2 separate regions of the Homo sapiens genome follow, and region 1 is linked to region 2. The links are contacts of gene promoters, found by promoter capture Hi-C in human tissues and cell types (Jung and others, 2019). All regions are on one chromosome and are shown on one strand. Each heading gives the region's core, a stretch centred on a gene start or on the middle of the fragment in contact. The rest is flanking DNA. Distances are from core to core; before and after follow the strand shown.

Region 1 (5,606 bases), core at 997-3,496, 180 kb after region 2:
CGGCTGACACTGTGCATATGGCTTGGCTCGGCCCAGCACGGAACGGAATGGCTCGACATGGCTCGGGCGCTGGTGCCCAGAGAGAGAGTAAGGCTACTTACCCCTGTAAGGGAGAGTGGGTCACCTTGAAGGCAGGCAGTGGGGAGCCAGGAACCAGCTTGTGCCCAAAGGGAAAGAGTTAAGCTGCTCTCCCTGTAAGAGAGAGCTGGCCTTGTAGGGCAGAGAGCGCAGCTGCAGGTGTGGGGTCGGCGAGAGCCTCAGAGCTGGAGCAAATAGCCGAGGTAAAGGTGGACGGTGTGAGTACGCTGCCGATGACAGAGCTGCTGCATAAAACCATATTCACCTGCCTACGGCCCCCTGAGTGTTCTTTCAGTTATCTGCCCATCCACCCACTCCCCTCAAACCTCAGCTGGGGCTCACACCTGAAAGAATCGCTTTCTGTTAGTCCCTACTTAACTGATACCATATTCTCTCTGGTTTGGGGAGTGGAAGGAGGTGGAAAGAATAATAGCAAAACGGTCTCCTAAAAACTAGAACGTCACAAACTTTTCCCAAGGCAGACCTGGGAACGTATTGAAGGCAGAGACGGGATCTGCAGAGAGAAATTTTGAAGCTCATAATTTTATGAAATGCTGAGCTATTTGCCTTCAATTCGACCAGGAAAAACAGAAGCTTTATGTCAAAATATGTCATTTTTTTCATAAAGCAGACCCCTGCTTTAGATTACATAGAAAGATACTTGAGTTTGTCTTGATTACTTTAGTCTTTTTTTTTTTAAAAAAATCATAAATGTAAATTCCATATGCTTTAAAGGTTGGGACTTTATCCTATCTCCTGTTAAATGCATCTGTTCTAGTGCCGGATAGCACTCAATAAATGAGTTGATTGCAATTAATCACAGACACTTCACAAACGGTCATTTAATAAAGTTGAGCAATGCTTATCCAGGTGTTTAATATGGAGGAGTGATTTCATTCCTGAAGGTGGGGGAAGAAGCTAGTGCTTCATTTGTGAGATCTGAAATGTTTTCTGATGTCTACCACCATAAATGTATTGTTCCAAATTCCCCCTTACACTCATGGTCTCGGAAAGGAAATAGAAAATGCGAAAAATTCACCATATATATATGTGTGTGTGTATATATATATATATATATATACACACACACACATAGATACACATATGTGGGTATATATATATATATACCCACATATGTGTATATATACATACATATGTATACATTATAGATATATACCATGTATGTAAGTATACCGTGTGTGTGTATATATATATAACATATATACCATGTATGTATACAATAGAAATAGAAAATGGGAAAAATTCACCATATATATGTATATATACATATATATACACACATACATAGTATATAATTTAAGCACCTGGAGGGCAGAGTCTTTATCTTGTTCACTGTGTATCCCTAGCACTTAAAATCTTATCTGACACACAGAAGAGACCAAGTTTTTTCTTTTCTTTTTTTGTTTTTCTTTGTTTTTTTGAGATGGATTCTTGCTCTGTCGCCCACCACCGCCTTGGCCTTGGATCTGCCCGCCTCAGCCTCCCAAAGTGCTGGGATTACAGGTGTGAGCCACTGCGCCTGGCCTGTTTATTTGTTTTTGAGACAGGGTCTCTCTCTGTTGGCAGGCTGGAGTGCAGTGGTGCAGTCATAGCTCACTGCAGCCTCAACCTCCCAAGGTCAAGCGATCCTCCCACCTCAGCCTCCCAAATAGCTATAGTAGCTAAAAGTACAGGTGCACAACACCATGCTCAGCTAATTTTTATATTTTTTGTCAAAACAGGGTTTCACCATGTTGCCCAGGCTGGTCTCAAACCCCTGGGCTCAAGTGATCCTCCTGTCTCAGACTCCCAAAGCTCTGGGATTCCAGGCATGAGTCATTGCACCTGGCCAAGGCTAAGTACTTTTAAAATTGTACTCTTAACAGACTTTTTTTCTTGTGTTGCTGTAGTTTTAACTCCTTAAGTCAAATATTCTGATTTCTGAATGTCTTTCTGCAACCACAGGGAGAACTTTACCAGATATTATGCAGATCAAATTTAAGATGTGAATAAACAAGAATAGAGAAGTAGACTTCATATATATTTGATTTCTCAAGAAAGTGTTCCTTTACTTCCCTTGCTTTATTCTGTCGCATCTTATTTATTTTGCTTTATCAATTCAAAGATATCATCTCAGTGTTTATTTTCACAAGGGGAGCCTGTGAGGTTGGGGGAGCTACTGTTTCTTTAGGGAAAAAGAAGCAGTGGTCTGGGCACGGTGGCTCATGCCTGTTATCCCAGCACTTTAGGAGGCCGAGGTGAGTGGATCACTTGAGGTCAGGAGTTCAAGACCAGCCTGGCCAACGTGGTGAAATGCCGTCTCTACTAAAAATAAAAAAAAATTAGCTGGACGTGGTGGCAGGCGCCTGAAATCACAGCTACTTGGGAGGCTGAAGCAGGAGAATCACTTGAACCTGGGAGGTGGAGTTTGCAGTGAGCCAAGATGATGCCACTGCACTTCAGCCTGGGTGACAGGGCGAAACTCAGTCTCAAAAAAAAAAAAAAAGAAGAAGAAGAAGTGGCAACTATAATAACTACAATGTACTCTTTACACAGCAAGGTCTTTGTGTAAAAAGAGGGCATTTACGTAAGTTTGAGGTAAATATAAAAATAACTTCCTCAGGCTTCCAAAACCCTTCACTATGCCCTATATTCTCTCTTTAACCAGAAATGAATAAAAGTGAAATCTAGAATGAGGTTAATATTTTAGAAGTACTGTGATCCCATCTGTTTGGTAAGAGAGAAATAATATAACCTTCACATTTTTAAAGTTCTTTCAAGAAGATTTGAAGTAAGTACAAGAAGGAATATAGGTTCATAACTTTGATCTACTACAAGTCATAGATATTTTAGGTTTCTATAGGAGGGATGGTGTGCGCCATAGCTGAGCCTGGTGTACATCATTCTTTTATAGCTATACATAGTGTTCATTTGCCTTCAAATTTGAGATATCCATTAACCTGAGGTTTCTATATTTATGTTTCAAGATAGCTGGAAAGAGCAAGAATCAACAAAAGGTGATGATTTAATAGGGGACAATTGTGTCATATTCTTAGACTAGTGAGTGGGAAGACTTCAGATTAGAAAATAACCAAAAGTAAGACTTTATTATTATTATTATTTGAGAGGGAGTCTCACTCTGTCACCCAGGCTGGAGTGCAGAGATGGGATCTCGGCTCACTGCAACCTCTGCCTCCCAGGTTCAAGTGATTCTCCTGCCTCTGCCTCCCAAGTAGCTGGGACTACAGGCGCACACCACCATGCCCACCTAGTTTTTGTATTTTTGGTAGAGGTGGGGTTTTACCATGTTGGCCATGCTGGTCTCAAACTCCTGACCTCAAGTGATCTTCCCACCTCAGCCTCAAGACTTATATTATTTTAACATTGAATTAGAGACTATAGGGTGAATTTTAAGGAACTGAATAAAAATTATCATTTTCTTTAATAAAAAAGTTGTATGATGTTTATAATCCTAAATAAAAGAAGGTTACACTGTTATTTTGAGTTTTTCTGTTTGACGATCTTCAACTCACTTATTTCTGGAGTATCAAAATAAGGTGGGAACTGGGTCCTACCAAGCTGCTGGGCTTCTCTATTTGAAAAAAATGAAGAGTTAGAATCATCAAGTTCATGTCATTCACACTTTGAAGTTATTTTACATAAACTTTAAAGTTTTAAAAAATCACTGTAAATTGAAATAGAGCCCAAGGTTAAGAAAGCAATTAGCGGGTTTGGAGGAGAGGCAGGAAATAGCTATTTGACTGAGCCAGTTTCTGAATAATGCTATAATTTGGATTTAATCTTCTGGCCGTGTGGTTTGTTATGCAGTCCGCTTTAAGACTTTCTCAAAATATTGAATACTTTTATGGAGTTCTTGATTGCCAACTATAGATTATATCATGCTAACATAGTTTTATTTCTCAGGTTTTAATGAAACTCTTATTCTTAAAAGAAAAATTCAGCATATTGATTCTTCTTTACTCATGTAATAAGCTCTGCAATATCATAGTAAAACACACTGGCTTCATTTTTTATGTTAGTAGTGTTTTGATATAAAATTCCTGTTAATTTTCCAGCTAATAGAACAGCAGTGTGTTCTGATTCAAATTGAGACTGGCCAGCTTTGTTGTGCGTATTTGATGGAAAATAATTGCCCTCCCTGCATGTCACCTAGCTAAATGGATTTTATCTCATTTCTGAGACGTTTTATATACCATAATCACATGGAACTTGAAAGGGACATGAAAGCTTGCCTGTGCTGGCAAATCTCACCTTATTTGAACCATTATTATGTGTTAATTTCCTTCTGTGAGTTTTTGCTCTGCCATTGATTATAAATCGGAGTCTATTTTTTCCAATGTATTAGTCATCAATACTTATGACATTTATAGATGGGTGGAACGTGGTAATTTTCAGTGATTTTTCATATACCTTGTCCCATTTGGCCCAAGGGGGCATTCTTCTTCATTTTGCAAAAGGGAAGGCCACAGCTCAGCAGGATCAAATGGCTCCAGGTAGACCCACAGTGGATGAATGACAGAGCCAAAAGCTGTGTTGTATTTCTGGCCTTGAGGATTGGTAGAGCTGTCTCACTCCACATGGGATGAGTTTTTAAGATGTCCATCATAAAATGCCAGCAACAATAATCTATGGTAATCATCATAGATGTTGGATTGAAGCTTCAATTTTCTAGAACCACTGCCTCTAAAGGAGCTCTAGTGTGTCCTACAAAAGGGTTCTATTTCATCTTTTGGTGTACTTCAGGAACTAGAAGTTTTCATACTAGAGATTCTCCAGAGGATACTGAATTATTTAAACTACTGAAAAGCTACCCTGAGAAGAGTGAGGGAACCACTTGAAAGATTATTTTAATGTAGAAGGATAATGGAACAATTTGCTGAGTTTTAAACCACCACATTAGCAAGCCAGTTGCTAAGCTAATTACGCCTCCAGCCCCATGTTGTGCCACTGAAAGCTGAAGTCCTCAACCAGTTGCCTCATTTCCATTCTCCTGTTTTGAGAGCCTGCATTTCTCCCAATGAAGAGGTAAACTGTTTCTTCTCTGGGAAAGCAGGGGGCTGCCTGACATTGACTTTCATGCTGCACCCTTTTGTGCTTATTATCCCGTAAAAGGGAGTCCCTGTCTCCTGCCACTGAAGTGTACCTAACACCTGGATTGTTGTGAGACGTGCACACTTTGCCTAGGTGAACTGTGAATTTTTGCAAAAATGTATCACTATTATAAAGGGCCCTGCCCTACACTGTTGTTCATCACATGCAGGATGTATAGTAAATGTCAGCTAATGGAGTAATCATTCGTCTAAGACTTTCCAGCTCCTTTTCTTAAGCTGGCAACACCTGTGCTAGGTGCTTTTATGTGTGTTTATTTTAAAAGAGAAGAAGGAGGCTTAAAGGGGAGAGCAAAGAAGCTGGCAAGCACCAGCTTAAGAAAAACGTTAGCAATTAAGATAGTGGGAGAGGCTGGGTGTGGTGGCTGACACCTGTAATCCCAGCGCTTTGGGAGGGCA
Region 2 (5,158 bases), core at 1,229-3,728:
CAGCAAGGGTGTTTAGGGAACCCAGTGCAAGGCTGACTCTTCTGCTGTTGCCTTGAGCCCAGCTGTGCTGAAATATTAAACTTTAGTAAATTAGGTGAAATTGCAGCTTCCTGGCTGATACAATAATGCCTTTTTCTTTTTCTGCAAACCATGTTCAGCATTAGTTTTCTGCACAATTTTCTGCACTGAGATAAAAATTGGAATATCTTTCAAATCCAGGCAACTCTTCATTTTCTAGATGATTGTGCCATATTCTACTTATTTAACAAACGGCTTAAACTTTGAAATATGTAGAACTAGATTTCTGTATTATTCTATCACTACCTGAGTATAGCATTACTTTATGTCATACTCAGATGAAGCAACTGAATCCCTACAAATATTAGTTTTATATAAAAGTAGAAGCCTGTTTTTATTCCTGATTAGTACATATATTAACAGCAGTGATGAGCTATAGAAGGAAATCACATTCCTAGTCACATTTATTTTTAGTTTTTTTGCTCCATTTTCTCTTTAAAAATAACACTAGTTCTTATGTGCTTTTATTCATTGACTAAACATTTATTGATCAATTATTATGTGCAAACTTCTGTTTTGTATTCAACAAGATGTTTTTAGAGTAAATCCGGAATTAGCAGAAAGAGACTAGGGACACTGGTATCTCTTGCCTTGATATATGTTTTCTTGTGATGGAATCTTTGGTGACAGCTTTATTTGGCTGTCTGGCCTGGTTGCTCCCAAATGGCTCTCACTTGGGCCTCTTTCAGGTGAAGACCATATGCTTCTAGGAGATGTCAGTTGAAATATCATATTTTTGTTGCTTGGGAAAGTTAACTCATGAAAGCCTTTTCAAAATTGAAGTCATTTCAAAAGATCTTATCAAGGTACTCCCAAGATGGTGGAATCCAAGGGTTGCATTTGGAAAAATCTCGAAACTATACAAAAGTAAGAGTGAATAATTTTATAAGCCTGCATATAACCACAATGGAATTAAAACCTAGGGAAGTGGCTAAGTGGGGGCTTGGGCAGTCAGGATAGTTTAGGGCATAGAGAGTTGAGACCCACTTTTAAAAAAATAGAGAGCCAGTCTGTTTCATAGTGTCATTGGATCACTCTCCTGCAACAGATGAGATACTCGTAAATGAGATACTAACCAATATGATCTAGACCGTGGTTTAGTTCTGGCTGCCATAAGAAGGATACCATAGGCTGGGTGACCGAAAGAACAGAAATTTATTTTTCACAGTTCTGGAGGGTAAGAAACCCAAGATCAGTGTGCCAGCATGGTCAGGTTCTGGTGAGGGTCCTCTTCCTGCTTGGCAGAAAGCTGCCCTCGTGCTGTGTCTTTACACTGCACAGAGCAGAGAGAGAGGAGGCAAATTCCCCGCTGCCTGCTCTTATGAGGGAACTAATTCCACCAGGAAGCCTCCACCCCATGAACTAATCAGGTATGAAAGGCCCCACCTCCAGATACCACCACATTAGATTGGGGATTTGGGTTTCAACATATGAATTTTGTAGAGACACAAACATTCAGCCCATAGCAGTGTTAAAAGAAAAACATCAGACAAATTAAATTTAGCACAGTTTATTCGAGCAAAGGGTTCATGAATTGGGCAGCACTCACAACCAGAGGAGGTCCAGTGAGGTCCACCCCATGGTGTGAGCAGCAAAGCCTGATAGGCCAAACTCAGAAGCACAGTGGAGAAACTGATTGGCTATAGCTATGCAGGCTGCCTTGTGGGGCCTGGTATAATGAGTTGGTTGCCCATGATTGGCCAGTAGCCCCCTGTTCATTACAGCCTAATGTAGGTTTCCATTGTTAGGTGGGAACTCAACGTACAGAGACAGCCTCAAGCTAATGGCCTCTTGCTTATTTAAGAGCAGTATGCAAACTTTTCCTGGAAAGTTTCAAATGGTAAATATTTTAGGCCCTGTGGGCTATGCCACCTCTGTCATCACTACTCAATTCTGCCCTTGCAGCCCTAGATCATACAGCCATATGCAGTCACTGATAATACAAAGCCATGGGCATGGAGGTTTTCCAATAAAACTATTTGCAAATACAGGCAGGGGCTAAACGGGTCTCCAGGTAGTAATGTGCTCATGCCTAAAGGTCTCCTAGCCCCTCATACCAGTTCGCTGTCCCTCTGAATCTGGGTTGAAGTAAGCACAGGTTACTGCTTCTGTTCAGTGTCATGATCCACCCAGCAATTCCCCAGTCCCCAGCTTTCTTCATGCGTGGGAGGATCCAGCCAAGCGACTGCACAGTTTTGAAAGTTTTTGAAGCGGCCCCTTTTTCTCCTCTCCTCTCTCCGCAGGCAGAGTTGTGGTGTGGCTGGGTGGTCTGCGTGGGCGTCCGGGGGATTCGCGGGCACTCGGGACGAGGCGAGGGCGCAGAAAACTTGGAGCCCAATCAGCACGGAGTTGAGCTTCCGCGCCCCAACCTTCAGGTGACCCCGCGCGGCGGCGGCGGCAGCAGCAGTGGCAGCGGCGACCGGAGCCCGCAGCAGCTCCGAGCGCCTCCGGGAGGACAGGCGGCGAGCTCGGCGAATCGTCATCTGCCAGCCGATCGCGGCGCTCCGCGGGCCGGGGCCGGGAGCCCGGGGCGAGCCCGAACGCGGCTTCTTCTCCGCCCGCCGCGGAGACTCTGCCGGGTGGGCTGCGGGCGCCCCTCGCTGCCGCCTGTGAACGCTGTGGGTGCGCGGGGCTGCGGCCACGGCGGCGGTGGCGGCGGCGGCGGGAGCCGCGAGTCGGGGCCGCCCGGGCTGTGCTTCGCCCCGGCAGCAGCGGTGGCGGCGGCGCCTGTGGCTCAGGATGCGGCCGGGGGGCGCACTGCTCGCCCTGCTCGCCAGCCTGCTGCTGCTGCTGCTGCTGCGCCTGCTCTGGTGCCCGGCAGACGCGCCCGGCCGCGCCAGGTAACCCACCCACCCGCCGGCCGCGCCCCGCGCCGCGCGCCCCGCCTGGCGCCCCCGGACCCCCAAGCCGCCCATCGCTTCCCCTCGGGCGCGGAGACTTTTGGCCGCGGCGGGGAGCAGCCCACGGGCGGCGACGGCCTGAGAGTGGAGTGGGGGAGGGGGTCGCAGGGAGGCGACCCTCCGACCGGTGGACGGCGGCTGGGGAGCAGAGGGACCGGTCAGGGCTGCGGGGGCTCTAGCGCGCATCGCTGTGGGCGAGGCAGCTGTGGAGCGGGACCTGCCGTCGGGTTCCGCATCAGGATCTCATGCTCCCCATTCTGGTCCTTGCTGTCTCTTCCTTCCCGCCCTAAGGCTCTTCCAACTCTGGGGCTGGGGACCTGGCCTGGGAGCCGGGGAGTGCGAGATCTCCCTGCCAGGCAAGGAGCGCGACTCCCAGCCTTTCAGCCAACAGCTCCCGGCGGGGTGTAGCAACTTAAGTTTTCTCCCCGGCTGTGCAGGATTCTGGTGGAGGAAAGCAGGGAGGCCACCCACGGCACCCCCGCAGCGCTGAGGACGCTCCGGAGCCCGGCGACCGCGGTACCGCGCGCCACTAACAGGTACAGCGGCGCCCAGCGCGGGCGGACTGGGGCTCGGGAGCTGCGAGCCGGGCATGGGGCGCGGCTGCACCGGCTTGGACTCGTTGGGAGTAGGCAGGCTGGGACGGCGCGAGTGAGTGTAAGAGTGTGCGTGTGTTTGAAGAGGGCGCGGGGTTGGGGGGGGGCACCCTTCACACTCCCTCAACCCTCTAAGCCTGGATGTGAATGGTCTTTGAATCAAGGGGGATCCTCCAGCAGCTGCATTTGAAAAACGGGTGCTGAGTTTTCCTCTCGACAATGGTGTGTTGAAAGCACCCCCGCCCCCGACCCCGCCACCTTTGGAGAGAAGCAGCTCAGCCTGTCTTTATGGAGGGATTTGGTTGGTTTGCTTTTTCTTTTCTATGCTTTAAAGGGCACCGGTGTTAAGATTCAGGTTTGTTTTGCGTGCTAGGAATGATTTTGTCCTTAGTGACTGGAGGCTTAAATTTTTTTTCTTATCATTCACATGTGTTTTTATTCATAGGCAGTAATTGTTTTTTTTTCAGATTGTAAAAGTAATACAGCTTTGTGCAGAAAGTTAGAAAATAGAACTGTATAAAAGAAAATGTTATTCATTCAGAGTCCTTACCTCTCAGAGACCATATTCAAGGTGGTTTTGGTCTATATTTCTTCCAGTAGTCTTTTCTATATACATATATTTCAAAAATATAACTTAGATTATACATTGCAGTTTATGTTCTGCCTTTTTTCTAAAAATCCTAGACCTATACCTGTCATTACATTCCCCTCCCCCCACAAAAACATTGCTTTGGATTGTTGCATAACTTATTATCTGAACATGCCATAATCTATTTAATAGTTTCCATTTTCAGACATTTAGGTTGCTTCTTGTTTCTGTTTTATTTTGTTTGCCATCAGTAATTCTATGAAATGCATCCTTGTATGTAAATCTTTATCTTCATTTCAAATTAATTACCCAAGATGGACAGACAGGAGTTGAGATTAGTAAGTCAAAGAGTATGTACTCTTTAGATTCTAAGTCACATTGTCAGTTGCTTCCTCGAAGGGCTGAATCAATTTACATTTTCACAAGCAGAATGTACTGCTTCCTGCCTTAGCATTGCTATTATGATTGCAATCTGCTATACGGTCTCTTTTCCTCTTTTTATCTCTTGCAAATCCCTTTTCTTCTGCGTATGCTTCTCTATATTCTTGGCTCTTGGATCCACCTTAATCTTCTGATGGTGTAACTCCAGGAAGCTCTAGCACGGCTCTAAGAAGGGTCTGGAAGTGGCTGGATAAACCCTGAATTGAGGAACACCACTGCCTGCCACCCCCTCATTGGAATTTCACAGCATATTAGAGGCACTAGGACCTCCTGGAGTAACAAAAGCTTTTGAGAAAAATAGTGTCCTATAGTTTTATTCTATTCAGGTTGGTGTACTATAGGTAGCCTAGCTTTCTTGATGAGCTGAGAAGCATTCCATCTTTTCCCGAGTCCTGTGGCTATTACACATTCGAGGGTTGACCCTTGGGGAAAGTTGGAAAGAATGTACTCATTAAATGGTTTGATCTCAGGTCGTTTTTAGAGGTAATCTTTGATGAATTTTTCACTTTCTTTTGACATACTTCTTTTCTACTTGGCATACTTCTTGGGCTAATATA

Evidence for each region. Contacts are between HindIII fragments. The study calls those that stand out against the background at their distance.
Region 1: a fragment that was not itself captured here is called in contact with the fragment with the promoter of ST8SIA6 in region 2 in 1 of the 25 tissues and cell types used here (IMR-90 fibroblasts).

What each region holds. Positions count from the first base shown.
Region 1 is chr10:17,267,314-17,272,919 of GRCh38, reverse strand. No RefSeq gene overlaps it. Among named protein-coding and RNA genes, the nearest start is that of VIM-AS1, 40 kb to the right of the region's middle. The HindIII fragment of the contact is 6,466 bases long and covers 1-5,479 here.
Region 2 is chr10:17,451,915-17,457,072 of GRCh38, reverse strand. ST8SIA6 (ST8 alpha-N-acetyl-neuraminide alpha-2,8-sialyltransferase 6) reads left to right here and starts at 2,478. Exons shown (of 8, transcript NM_001004470.3): 1 at 2,478-2,918; 2 at 3,416-3,514. The coding sequence starts at 2,818. The HindIII fragment of the contact is 8,458 bases long and covers 1-5,041 here.